Regions from separate parts of the Homo sapiens genome. Here regions 1, 2, 4 and 5 are each linked to region 3. Evidence: promoter capture Hi-C in human tissues and cell types (Jung and others, 2019). All regions are on one chromosome and are shown on one strand. The core of a region is centred on a gene start or on the middle of the fragment in contact, and the rest is flanking DNA. Distances in the headings are between cores, read along the strand shown.

Region 1 (2,700 bases), core at 135-2,634, 630 kb before region 3:
AGGGATGGTGATGGCTATCTAATCCAGAGGTTATCGAACTGTGGTCCCCAGCCAGCAGCATCAGCATCATCTGAAAACTTTCCAGTATTGCAAATTCTTGGGTCCATCCAGACTTACTGAATCAGAAACTCTGGGGGTGGAGCCCCCCAGTCTGTGCTTGAACAAGCCCTTCAGGTGATTCTAATGCATGCTGAAGTTTGCATAACCCTGCCCCAAGCCAACAGGAGAATCACGTCCAGGTTGCACAATAAAATATTTTTTTTCTTTTTTTTTACAACTGATGCCTGGACACCACCCCAGTCCCACTAATTTAAAGAACCCCCTGGGTTGGTAGCTGAATATTCTTATGCTTTTACAGTCTCCCCAGATGATGCTAACCAACAAACGGTATTGAGGATGTTGGTCTAACACATGTATGAGTACAATCAATTGAGTGACAAATTGAGAAAGGACCACACAGGGCTGAGAACTGTTGTATATTCTGCCACAGCAGCTGAATGATTGTACACACATTTAACGGGAGTATCATCTTGTTTATTTTACTTCATTGGGTCAAGGTGTTAAAAAGAGATTTAAAAAAATGCTTTTGAAGAGAAATTTTAAGTGATATTTGAAAGTAAGTATTATTATCAGCTAATATGTTTTTTGACCTACCATATAAATTTAAAGACTTTATACACAAAGAAACCTCACAATTGCAATCATGTATGGCAAACACCTTACCTGTCCAGCCCAGAATTTGATATAATAACTTAAAATTTAGAGTTGTCGAAAACCACTGAGCATAAAAATATTAATAACTGTCCTATACCCTTAATAAGAATAAGAAGTATTAGAGTAGAACAAAAAGGACAACAGCCTGCATGTATCAAGAATTTTCATACATATCTTCCTTATCCTGGTAACAACACTATCGGGTAGGTTATATAAAATTTATTGGACAGTAGTAATTACTATTAAAAATGAGGACCCTGAGTCATTAGGAAAGCTAAGTTTTGTTCAAAATATTTTGCTTAAGAAAATATGAAGTAAATTGGCAGACTTCTCACATAGAACTCAAAAGCACTAGCATGGAAGAGAATTGGATAAATAAGAAAATAAGAAATGGAATAGGCAAGTTTACTTAAACAGGAAACAATCATTAATCATTTAAAAAATTACATTTAAGTCTAATTTGTAGAGTTTCTGTTCATCAAAAGTTGACACTAAGAGAGTGAAGTGGCAAGACACAGACTGAGAAATAATATTCACAGTCTATATCTGATGATGGACTCAAATCCAAAGCATTCAAAAAAAACAAAAACAAACAAACAAACAAAACTACCGGCCAGGCACGGTGGCTCACGCCTGTAATCTTAGCACTTTGGGAGGCCGAGGCGGGCGGATTGCCTGAGTTCAGGAATTCGAGACCAGTCTGGCCAACATGGTGAGACCCCGTCTCTACTAAAAATACCTGTAATCCCAGCTACTCAGGAGGCTGAGGCAGGTGAATTGCTTGATCCAGGGAGGTGGAGGTTGCAGTGAGCAGAGATGGCACCATTGCACTCCAGCCTGGGTGTCAGAGAGAGACTCCGTCTCAAAACAAACAAACAAACAAAACTAACAAAAATCATTTAGAAAGAAATTGATTTTAAAATCAGCAAAGACTTGAAGCATTTACAAAAAAAGATTCAAATGGCTGATAAGAACATGAAAAAGTATTCAATGTCATTCTTTTCAAGGAAATGCAAATTAAAACCACATTGAAATATCAGTACACACCCATCAATACATATCCACTATTACACACATACCATAAATTATTTGTTTAAACAATTCAATTCCTGTATATATTTCAGAGAAATGTGAATGTAATTGCTCATGAAAAGACAGCTTCAAGAATGTTCATAGCAGCTTTATACATAATTGTTAAATTATGAATAGGAAAAATTCAAATACCCATTGGCACAACAGTGATAAAAAAATGCCTGTACATACAATGGCATACTACATGGTAGTGTAAAAAATGAATTGTTTGTATATGCAACAACATAGATTACTTCAAAATGTCTTGTTGAGCAAGAGTCTAGATGCAAAAGAGAACATATAGTATGAATCTATTTACATGAAGTTCAAGAACAGGCAAAACTAATGGATGATGACAGAGCTCAGAAGAATGGCTGCTTTGTACGGGAAGAGAGGATGAAATGAGAAGGGTGATGAAGAAGCATCTGAAGACAGGTTCTTGCTCTGTTGCCCAGGCTGGAGTGCAGTGACACAATCACAGCTCACTGCACCCTTGACAACCTGGCCTCAAGCAATCCTCTCACCTCAGCCTCCTGAGTAGCTGGGTCTACAGGCATGCACCACCATGCTTTAATGACTTTTTTATTCTTCGTAGAAATGGAGTCTCACTATGCTGTCCAGGCTGGTGTCAAACTCCTGGGCTCAAACGCTCCCCCTGCCTCAGCCTCCCAAAGTGCTGGGATTATAGGCATGTTCCATATCTTCATCGGAGGTGGTTACACAAGTACATATGCTTAAGATTAGCATGCTTTACTATATGACATAACTAAATGTAAATTAATATTAAAAAGACAAGAAAAAACATAATCCATCGTCAAAAGATAACATCTAAAATAATTCCATTGACAGTGGCTTTATTGCTTATGGAGTTTAAAACCACAGTTATCCAAAAGAGAAATGTCTTCAGGATTTTGT
Region 2 (2,700 bases), core at 105-2,604, 530 kb before region 3:
AGCATTTTCATACCAATAATCATGTCTTAGGCAGCAAGAAAAGGACATGTTATTTAGTATTTATAAAACATATTTTAAAATGGAAACTTTTTAAATTTTGCAGGACACATAGAGAGTGTTCTCATCCACATTTTAGAAAATGGACACCTAAGGGAAAAGAAAGAAATTATCTATACTCAGGAAATAGCCTACATCATGTAGTATGGCCCCACTTCTCCTGACCATAAAAATCACCTAGCAACTTATTAAAAATACAGATTTGAGGGAAGAATATGGCAAACTTCATTGTAAGCCAATGCACTAGTCAAGTTTAACAATGGAGAAGTGAGTTTAGAGTTTGTAAGTGGGTTAACCAAGGTCTGAATCCTGGCTTGGCCGCTTTCTAGCTACATGATTTTGGACAAGTTTCTTAAACTCTTACAGCCTTTGTTTTTTCATCTATCGTATGAAGATAATAATAGTTCCTCTTTAATAGTATTGATGTGAGGATAAAATGGATGTAAAGCTCTTAGCAATAGTGGCTGACAAATGTTATTAATAGAATCTCTATGCATGATATTAATGTTATATATATTAAGCCAGATATGTCTTTTTTCTTCTTTACAATTTGGAAACTCACATTTATGTAACTATATTTTTCTGGAAATCTCTATCCACACCCAAAGACTTTCACTTCCTGTTCAATATGCTTTGATATTGTTACAGTTGGTCAAACTGTATTTGTGATACATGTTTTTAAGTTAAACTATTCAATTAGAAGCATTTGATATAAAATAGTCGTGTTCACAACACCTGTAAGAATCGTTCCTTTACTCCTCACCCCTGCCCTCCTTTACCCCTTGGAGCTTTACAGAGGCACTGGAAGTGGCCTGTATCAGTGTGATCGGGGAGAAAATCAGAAAGGACAAGAAATCTACAATGTGAAATGTGCCCATAGATATAAGCGCTGCCTGTGCAATGAGCCCACAGATATGTGCATTGGCAAAACTGCAAGTGCAGTTTATGAAAAGTTGCTGCCCTTCAGGGATCTCGTTTTTCTTCCTACAGTTGTCTAGTGAAATGAGAGGCTTAGGGTGAAAGAAACTGTGAAAGAACCCGTGGGTGATTTGCTTCTGCTTTACTGATCTCATTTGAAGCCAACCCTTGGAGAATGGCTAGTGAATACTAATAATACCTTATTAGAAACTATAGCGTGGCTTCATGCAAGGTGAACCTAAATGTGTAGTCACTGCCCATCTTCTGTGTGAAAGGAGGAAGCCGTGGCATCCACATCAGCATTTTTGTATTACTATTTAACTAAAAGTTTGGCTCCCATATAGGAATGTACAGCTCATTGTTCAAAATCCCTCACTACAGTAGGTATGCCAACTCAACTTCTGCTCTCTTCTCTGAAAATTCTGTGCCCATTAGGAAGGACTGGGTTTCCTGTTAGACAAAAGGCAAGGGCCAGCTTAGGTGGAACTCACTGCTTTGGTCTTCATCCTCTCTATTAAAAAAAAATATATATATATATATTTATATATATTTATATATATATTTATATATATTTATATATATATTTATATATATATATTTATATATATATTTATATATATATATTTATATATATTTATATTTATATATATATTTATACATATATATTTATATATATTTATATTTATATATATATTTTTATATATTTATATATATTTATATTTATATATATATTTATATATATTTATATATATATTTATATATATTTATATATATATATTTATATATATTTATATATATATTTATATATATTTATATATATATTTATATATATTTATATATATATATTTATATATATTTATATATATATTTATATATATTTATATATATATTTTTATATATTAATATATATTTTTATATATATATTTACATATATTTATATATATTTATATAAATATATATAAATATACATAGTAATATATTTATATATATTAATATATAAATATATATTTATATATATTTATATATATATATATTTATATATTTATGTATAAATATATATTTATATATATTTATATATATTTATATATTTATGTATAATATATATTTATATATATTATATATTTATATATTTATGTATAAATATATATTTATATATATTTATATATTTATATATATTTATATATATATAAATATATATATAAATATATATAAATATATATAAATATATATATATAAATATATATATAAATATATATATATATATTTATATATAAAACCTCCAATGTCCTATTTCACTTTGGAAGTGTGCATTCCACAGCCCCCACAAGTATTGCAGAGCATAATACCATAAGTATGTACATCCCAGTGGACCTTGGGGTCCTGCTTGGCCAGCAGCAGGAGAGCCACTGATATTAAGAAGGAACGTTGTCAAGAGGTGCCAGATGGGGTTAGCCCTTCGGGAGGTCATTCCACCTAAAAGTGCCCAGCTCAATGCCAAGATGGCATGAGTGAGTTACCTTAATGAGAAAGTGCCAGTCTGCCCTTCCTTCTAATTCCTGGGGTTGTGTGTGGGAGGGACAGAGGCTGTTTGTGGGGTTTATTGTGAGCTCTGTGCTGGTTATTCACCCATTTTCCCCACTACATAGACTACAGGAGGTTGATCCATGCAGAGTGCATTCCCCCAGCTCCCTCATAGTCTGGCTTCTAATTGGAGGCATCAGCAGG
Region 3 (2,724 bases), core at 140-2,639:
ATGCACCTCTAAGAATAGAGCAAATAAAGATATTAGTTTAAGACAACGGTCCTCCAGGTAAATATAAAAGCTAAGTTCTTACCACCAACATGAACAAGTGAAATACACTTATTTGATGGAAAACTTACGGGCACAAAGCAATTGTTGACCAAATAGCAGAAACCAGTCTACAAAAATCATAATTAAAAATACAAGTATAATTCTGTTAATTAGGCATAGAAATTTATAATCTCCACGTCTTACAATTGTCCAGTGTTTATTCATGTACCTAAATTAAACTAAAATAATTTCAATCCAGGCAAACCACCCTGAAAGATTTTTTTCTTAAGATGTTTATATCTAAACCCATGCTCAGATCAGCAAAAACATTTAGAAAGGAAAATATTCTATTAAATTTTTTAAAAACATTTTATTGGGGGATCGTTAAATATAAATAATCCATTTTAAATAATATAAACACGTAGCAGAAGTACATAAAACATACTTTCATTTTCTAAAACATAGAGAACAGTAACTTCTTCGCCTCCAAAAGAACAGACCATTTAATACCATTTAAAAAAATCTTTTGGCATTCCTATTGCCCTTCCCATAACTAAATGAATCAGTGACACGTGTATATATATACATATATTGGAGATGGAGTTTCGTTCTTGTTGCCCAGGCTGGAGTGCAATGGTGCAATCTTGGCTCACTGCAACCTCTGCCTCCCGGGTTCAAGTGATTCTCCTGCCTCAGCCTCCCAAACAGCTGGGATTACGGGCGCCCAGCTAATTTTTTCTACATGTTGGTCAGGCTGGTCTCGAACTCCTGACCTCAGGTGATCCTCCCACCTCGGCCTCCCAAAGTGCCGGAATTAGAGGCGTGAGCCACCACACCCAGCCCTGATGTATATATTTGAATCTGCTGTTTATTCATATGTTGAATAAACATTCACAGTTGGGATTACTGGCATACATCTTCCACAATTATAACATTATTTTAGCTAGTGAATAATAAAACTAATTTGATTTTGGTTAACTTCTTTTCAATACAGATGGTTTAAAAATAAGACAAAGCCTGTCTTTTTCTATTGTGATCTTAAAAATATCTTTCTAACATGCTTTTTAAAAAAAATACATAAGTATGCTACCACTGCCTTGTAGTAAACTTTAGAAAATGTTGAGATTCCAAAGGGCTGCCTACAAACCAAATGGCATCCTAGCTTTGGCAGGCTGATGCTTCATTTTGGCTGCTCTCGCCCCCTCTAGCGTTTGCAAAGCTCATCTGTCTGATTATCCAGTTACCTCACTGAACAAGATCTTGGCTAAGTCCTGCCCATCTATGACATCACCCCCTTCTTCAGCCACTGCGAGGTGAAGCTTTAAACTTCAGACTTGGAGGTGGGCTGTGTGCAGTAAACTGGAATGCTCTCCCTCGCTCACTCCTCAGTGTAGGAGTGATCTGAAGCAGGACAAGCTCAGCCTGCAGCTGCCGTGGGCTTTGTGTGGACTGGACGCAGAGCTTGGGAGACGGGGGAGGGCTATTACTCCAATTCACTGTCAATGGAATTACAGCTATAGCGGCAGTGTATATAGGATTGCTTTTTCTCGTCTTCCTGGTAAGTGTTTTCCATGTTTTTTCTTATGATTGTCCCAGAAAGTTTGCTTGGTTTTACTCTCTAGAAAGAAACGACTTGATACTATGAGAAATCCAAATAGGAACGTTTGCTCTGTCACCACAACAAGCAATATATGTGCGTGCAAGCCAGCAATGAAAAATTTCACTATCATGGCTGAATGTAAGAAGTTTCTTAGAACCTTCTTTCATTTATAAAAGATAGTAAGTGGCTATTTTCTGTCTTGAGTAATTGCTATGTGAAAAGAGCCTTATGGAAAACAGCAAGTTGGAAAGTTCAATGTTAAATATTAAAGAATACAAGGAGATTCTTCACAGATAGGAAAGCAACTTGGTGTGTACTGTACGTGTGGGATGATCACCAATTGCTGTTTTTACAACTGTGAAAGAAAATCAATAATCCCTCAGCCCATGAGTACGCAGTACATGAAAAGCATACATCTTGCTCACAGCTAGCCGAGCTACTCCTGGAGACTTATGTGCCTCTGTAAAGGATTAACAGCTACACCTAGATTTTAAAGCTTGCACTGCTATCGTGCCTGAGCTGCTTCAAGCATTTCAGGCTTGCAAATCTCAACTAGTAAATTGAACTCAGAGGAGGGGGAGACACTCTTCCAAACCATATTCCCTCTTCAATAGAACACCAAAATCCATTGCTTAGGCAAGTGAAGTATGTGACTAGCATAGTAAATGGCTAAGTCTACTCAGAAAAACTAACAAAGCTCACCCTGGAAGCTATGCCTGATGTATGCAGTGAGTTTGGGGTAGCAGGAAAGAAAAATAAATGAGTAGAGCCCTTATCAAGTGGGTTTTGCAGAGGATCCATTCTTTGCAACTTATAATAGGAAAATCTTATATTGGAAGAAATGCATTTATACTACAAAGCTTGAAAAAGTAGTTAAATGTATCTTCTCAAAAAATTTTGTTCACTGAATTAGGTCTGAAACAAAATGGTTGCATATAGGTAAAGAGTGCAACAGGCCCATCCATGTCTTCTCAACATCTGGGGGGTTTGTTTTTATTATTTTATTTAGAATTTAAAAGAAAAAAAATTGATTTTTTTTTCAATTTTTAGTCCAAAATCTCTAATGGTTTTAATAATAAGGCTAT
Region 4 (2,700 bases), core at 177-2,676, 540 kb before region 3:
TCTCAGCCAGAACTCCTGAGGAATGTTCCACAGTGCTCAAACACAAGTGCAGGACACTACTCTCTTAATGCCACTGTAGAGTATGGACAAGCTTGAGGAGATGCCAAAGCCTGTCAGCATGAAAACCAAGTCAATATATGACCCTCTTCTCACTGCTTGGTTTTCTCAGCTGACTGGCAAGAGAGCTACCCCGAAACTTCTTGAAGAGGCCGTGTGTGGGGTGCCAGGCTAGGGAATTTATGAATTACCCCATTCAATTCCAAGCAATAAACCTCAGAGATAAGAACAGTGAGTCTCGTTTTATAGATTTGAAGTCTGAGGCACAGGGAAGTCAAGTGCCTTGTCAGTAAGAAGGTTCACCAGCTTTTATTTTGCCTCTTAGACCTAGAGACCAAGGCTTGTTCTAGGTTTGACCTTTAAGTCAACAGAGGTGGTAGAACTTTGAGTCACAGTATTTGATATCTAGTATGGTCAAGCCCACCAGAAGAAGGGAATGCATGAAAGAACCCAGGCTGACTGGCTCCAAAACCTATGGATCTGTAATTCCAGCAGGAAGAGAATGGGAGAAGATCCCACTGACAAGGGCCTAGCAGGAATTAATATTTTCCTTTCCATTGCAACATCCTCTCATTCCTGATGAAGAATTGTTAAAAGCAACATGTATTGCACCTCTTCCCTCCTCAGGGTAGGCCATGTAGGCCCTAATTGGGGGATTTGCTTTCAAGGACTCATGCACAGGCATTACACAGGCTAGTGACAAAGGTCTTGAGGAGTCACGCAGCTCTCCAACCCTCCAGGACCACTCAGGCAGGGATAGGGGCACTGTGATTGCAGCTGCCCACGCTGGGCGGCAGTAGCTCCCAGCAACAAGAGGCCACTCTGGCCCAGCAAACTCATCCCCTTTGTGGAGGGAGTTGTGTTTGTGTTCTGAGGCCCAAAATCATATACAAAATAATGCATGCCATTCCAAGGCATAAGTTAGACGGTTCCACCAGTTCTTTTCAGTTTGTCTTTAAAATCTCTGATTATACAACTTTAATTTTTGGCCTCTCCTCATTGGTCATTAGAGGGAGGCTGACTGCAGCTGAAGGGTGTTTTGCCACATAGCTGTAGATAAGCTAAATGCATGAATTCTTCTGAACCTTGAATAGTGCTGAGCAGAGGATTTGGGGACCTGCCCTCACACTCTTTAGAGAGGTCCCTGTGTTTTAGCCATGTCAGATGCAATTAGGTACAGTTCATCTCTCTTAAGTTCCTCGGGGATTTATTACGTGGGCTCTTGAAGGTTTCCCTTTCAAATGGCCATAGATTTTATATCCAAATCAGTGTGCAGTGATCACTCTCCTCCTAGCTTTAACTCATGGCAATTATGCCTCCATGGAAGTTGAGAATGTAAAGAGTAGAAAAACAAATGTTGCTCTTTGAATTGTCACATGAAATGCAGCAGAAGATAAAATTGATTTTGTAACATATCAGGTGATCAGAGGCTGTGTTGGCAGTGAAGCACCCAGCTCCCATGCTCCCTCTCCCCAAAACTGTGGACATACGTATCTTTTCTCATGATGGCAACAAGAGACTCACTTCTATCTCAGATCCTGTCATGACACTGAAAATGAATTGATTCTGCGTCTCAAGTCAGAGCTGGGCATGATACAATTTGCTGAGATCCATTGTTCTGCTTTCCACCAGTCAACACACAGTTTGTATATTTCTCATCCAAAACGAAAGCACGATGCATACTCTGCTCTCACGAGGCTAAAAAGAGCCAGGGGTTGGATTTGCACAAGTTTAATTCCTACTAAGATTTGCAAAAGATAATTTGAGAAACACATAGACTTTGTAGCTTTGAAGGAACTTAAAAATGACTTTCAACAACCTCTGTCCATTTGGAAACCCAGGTGTATTTAAAATTATTTTCGTAGTTTGTTTTTAATCATCAGTTTTCATGAAAAGAACCAGATTACTATGCTCTTTTAAAGCACTAATTTGCTTTAAAAAATAAAAAGAGAGAAGCACAATGACCAATTGTCTTATGAATCAGAGCTATACTCTATATATGCCACCATTAACTCAACAGTTTGTGATGAAAGAACAATGTAACCTCATCATATTCTCTAACAGTGCTGAGTCATTTCTCTATGAAAGGACTAACAAAGCAGGCTTATGTCTCATCTTCTCTCAAGCAAGTTTAGCCACATTATTACAGTATTTCACCTCTATAGCCTCTCCATTTTCCTCTGAGTCATTGTTTATCTCTTCCATAATCTAACTGGAAAAAAGTAAGTTAATCTCAAATGTCAAATCTATATGTGTATACCTTTATGTCTGAATTTCAAAACTGACTAATGTCAACATGAGTGAACCAATCTGAACACTCTAAAAGATAGGTCAAATTCATGCTAACTTGGAAGAATACTTTTTTAATATTAACCCAAAGAATTTAGGTATACAGATGACATACATTAAATTTAGTTAATAATCAACTCATTCTTTTTCTGTCCATGTAAACATGAATCAGAATGGGTTGTTAGTGAATGTAAACAACAAAACTATTCACCTACTTATTAATTTATTCAGTGTGTGTTTGCTGAACCTGTACTGTGTACAAGGTTTTAATTACGCAATGCATAAGGGTGAAGATAAAAAATACGGAGCTCACAGTCCATTTGTCAGTACAACAGAGATGAGTAAGGTGAAAAC
Region 5 (2,852 bases), core at 46-2,545, 610 kb before region 3:
GCATTGAGCTACCAGGATCGTGGCTGTAGAAGCATTGCCCAAGGTTGAAGGATGTAATCCCACATCTGATCCTTCACTCTGATCCATGACCAAACTGCAGTCCTCACCTGCCCCAAGAAATAGTCTGGAGTCTGAATGCCTTAGGTCAGTGGTCATTCTGCAGTTTTAGGGCCAGCAGCATTAGCATTCCCTGGGAGCTTGCTAGAAATGCAAAATCCAGATTTCCTGAGTCAGAACTCTGCAGGGTGGGGGGTAGGCCATCTGTGTTTTAATAAGCCCTCTAGGTGACTCTGATGCACACTCAAATTTGAGCCCCACTGTCTTAGCACAAATGCCTTAGCACCAATATTATTACTATTAGTTACCATGTGTTTACCACTTATTATGAACCAATCATCTTGCTAAAGCCTTTACTTGAATTATCACATTTATTCTTTACAACACCCTTGTGAGGTAGGTACTGCTGGTGCCCCCGTGTATGGAAGGTAAACTGAGGCTCAGCTAGTTTGCAGAGCATACACAAGGGCCTGTGGCCAATGCCGGAGTCAGAAATGGAATCATGCTGGTCTTCCCAATGTTCTGAATCACTTCACTTTGCTGTTCTGCCTCTATAACAAAGCCAGAAACATTGTTATAGAGCAAAATGCACTTTTCAAAGACGTACATTTGTTAAAAGATGTGAGCCTTTTCTGTAAGACAACTTTGACTGTCCCCAGCTTGCTCGGCGAATCTGTGAGCTGTCCTAACAGGAAACTCATCCAGCTCTAAGATATGCCGTATTCTCAGAGAAGCACAAAGGGATATTTGGGAGATAAGAAATGGGCTGAGCCAAGGATCCGACAGCCAGGTATCCGGCCATCTGGAAGGGATCAAACTTAAACAGGTTTGGAGTTGCCCAAATAAATGTCCTTTGTGTCTCCACCAAAATATATATGTGTATGTGTTGTACATGCACACATACACCTCACATGCATAGCAAAATACACATTGTCCATACTTTCATCAGCCATTGGGGGAGAATACAAAATTGAATCTACTTCTTCCCTCCACAAAAAATAAATCACGTGGAATGAAAGTGAATTAAAAGAAATAAACTTTAAAAAGGCATATCTATGAATTCCTACTTGGAGTGTGCTAGGTGCCTGCCACTAGGAAGCACCTGTGTTCTTTTCTCTAAACTGATAAACTAATGTCTATTTTTACCTGGAGGAAAAGAAAATCAACAGATGCTGACCTTACAATAATTATTGCTTATTCTCATATTTTTATTTCAGCATACAAAACATCTCAACATAAAGTGAAAAAATCCTGCATCAAAAATTATATGCTATCATATTTATGCAACACCAAGCAGAGTAAAAGTAAAAAAAAGAAAGAAAAAGGCTCATATATATCTATATTTACTTTTATCTGCAATTAATTAACCTGATAATGCCCCTTGTATTTTATTTAAATACAACATATTGGAAAAATTTTAAGTGTAATTTTTTCTGATATATATCATCTTCTTTAAAATCCATATATTATTGGTATTTAGATACAGATATGTGATAGAACTAGATAGATAGTGATCAACAAAAAATATTCTAAAGAAACATACTTTGAGAATTTGCTTACTTGGAAAAAGATTAATTTGCATTTATTCCACAACATTCACTGAGTTTCCAGTTTATACAATTTTTTTTTTTTTGAGACAGAGTTTTGTTCTTGTCACCCAGGCTGGAGTGCAATGGCACAATCTTGGCTCGCTGCAACCTCCACCTCCTGGGCTCAAGCAGTTCTCGTGCCTCAGCCTCCCCAGTAGCTGGGATTACAGGCACTCGCCAATATGCCCGGCTAATTTTAGTAGAGACAGGGTTTCACCATGTTGGCCAGGCTGGTGTCGAACTCTTGACCTCAGGTGATCCACCCACCTCGGCCTCCCAAAGTGCTAGGATTACAGGCATAAGCCACTTCACACAGCCTGCATTATATGAAATTCTTACTAAAATGCAGATAAATTTCATCAACAATAATTAGAGTATCAATAACAAGTGAGGCCACCATAAAACTCTATGTGAGTATACAAAAATACCCAAATAGTGAGCTACTAAGTTTATTTTCTCATTTTATTTTCTCACCCTCCTTTAAGGGATCATTCCATGCAAGTACTTTGCTATCACAGGACAGTCACATGCTTGCTTTTGTCTCCCGCAGTTCATTCCCCCAAGCTCTTTAAAAGCATTCGGTTCTTCTTACACATCTCCATATACCCAGGAGTTCCTAGAAAACAGCTTTGCAATTGGTAATCCTTTAATAAATAAGACTAAGGTGATGTTATTTAGCAAGGAAGGTACCCAAATGTAAAGGCTGCAAGGTCCAAGAAGATGATACAATGAAGTGGGCTGGCTGGTGAAGTGGACAATCACACCCTTACTAAGGTGACAGCCACTTGTAACCTTGACGCCCCTGTCTTCAGTCCAGAATGCTGGTCCAGTGTTTCCTGACTTGATTTCTCAAAGGAAAAGTTGGCCAGGCATGGTGGCTCATACCTGAAATCCCAGCAGCACTTTGGGAGGCCAAGACGGGCAGATTATTTGAGGTCAGGAGTTCAGGACCAGCCTGGCAAATATGATGAAAACCCAGCTCTATTAAATCCCAGCTACTTGGGAGGCTGAGGCAGGAGAATCGCTTGAACCTGGGAGGCAGAGGTTGCAGTGAGCCAAGATCAGGCCCACTGCACTCCAGCCTGGGCAGTAGAGCGAGACTCAGTCTCCAAAAAAAAGAAAAAAAAAAGAAAGAAAGAAAAGAAAAGTAGCCATTAGGACTTCAAAGAGAAATCTTCCAATTTTTAAACGCTGGCCACAAATACT

Evidence for each region. Contacts are between HindIII fragments. The study calls those that stand out against the background at their distance.
Region 1: a fragment that was not itself captured here is called in contact with the fragment with the promoter of FLRT3 in region 3 in 1 of the 25 tissues and cell types used here (lymphoblastoid cells).
Region 2: a contact is called between a fragment that was not itself captured here and the fragment with the promoter of FLRT3 in region 3, in 1 of the 25 tissues and cell types used here (dorsolateral prefrontal cortex).
Region 4: a contact is called between a fragment that was not itself captured here and the fragment with the promoter of FLRT3 in region 3, in 2 of the 25 tissues and cell types used here (dorsolateral prefrontal cortex and mesenchymal stem cells).
Region 5: a fragment that was not itself captured here is called in contact with the fragment with the promoter of FLRT3 in region 3 in 1 of the 25 tissues and cell types used here (dorsolateral prefrontal cortex).

Annotation. Positions count from the first base shown.
Region 1 is chr20:14,966,089-14,968,788 of GRCh38, reverse strand. The region is part of intron 5 of MACROD2 (mono-ADP ribosylhydrolase 2); the gene reads right to left. Among named protein-coding and RNA genes, the nearest start is that of MACROD2-AS1, 38 kb to the right of the region's middle. The HindIII fragment of the contact is 6,624 bases long and covers 1-2,700 here.
Region 2 is chr20:14,861,516-14,864,215 of GRCh38, reverse strand. The region is part of intron 5 of MACROD2 (mono-ADP ribosylhydrolase 2); the gene reads right to left. Among named protein-coding and RNA genes, the nearest start is that of MACROD2-AS1, 67 kb to the left of the region's middle. The HindIII fragment of the contact is 5,024 bases long and covers 1-2,700 here.
Region 3 is chr20:14,336,277-14,339,000 of GRCh38, reverse strand. It overlaps FLRT3 (fibronectin leucine rich transmembrane protein 3), which reads left to right and starts at 1,389. Exons shown (of 3, transcript NM_198391.3): 1 at 1,389-1,597. All of the region lies in intron 3 of MACROD2 (mono-ADP ribosylhydrolase 2), which reads right to left. The HindIII fragment of the contact is 3,050 bases long and covers 1-2,317 here.
Region 4 is chr20:14,879,052-14,881,751 of GRCh38, reverse strand. All of the region lies in intron 5 of MACROD2 (mono-ADP ribosylhydrolase 2), which reads right to left. Among named protein-coding and RNA genes, the nearest start is that of MACROD2-AS1, 49 kb to the left of the region's middle. The HindIII fragment of the contact is 4,918 bases long and covers 1-2,700 here.
Region 5 is chr20:14,945,038-14,947,889 of GRCh38, reverse strand. The region is part of intron 5 of MACROD2 (mono-ADP ribosylhydrolase 2); the gene reads right to left. Among named protein-coding and RNA genes, the nearest start is that of MACROD2-AS1, 17 kb to the right of the region's middle. The HindIII fragment of the contact is 6,808 bases long and covers 1-2,852 here.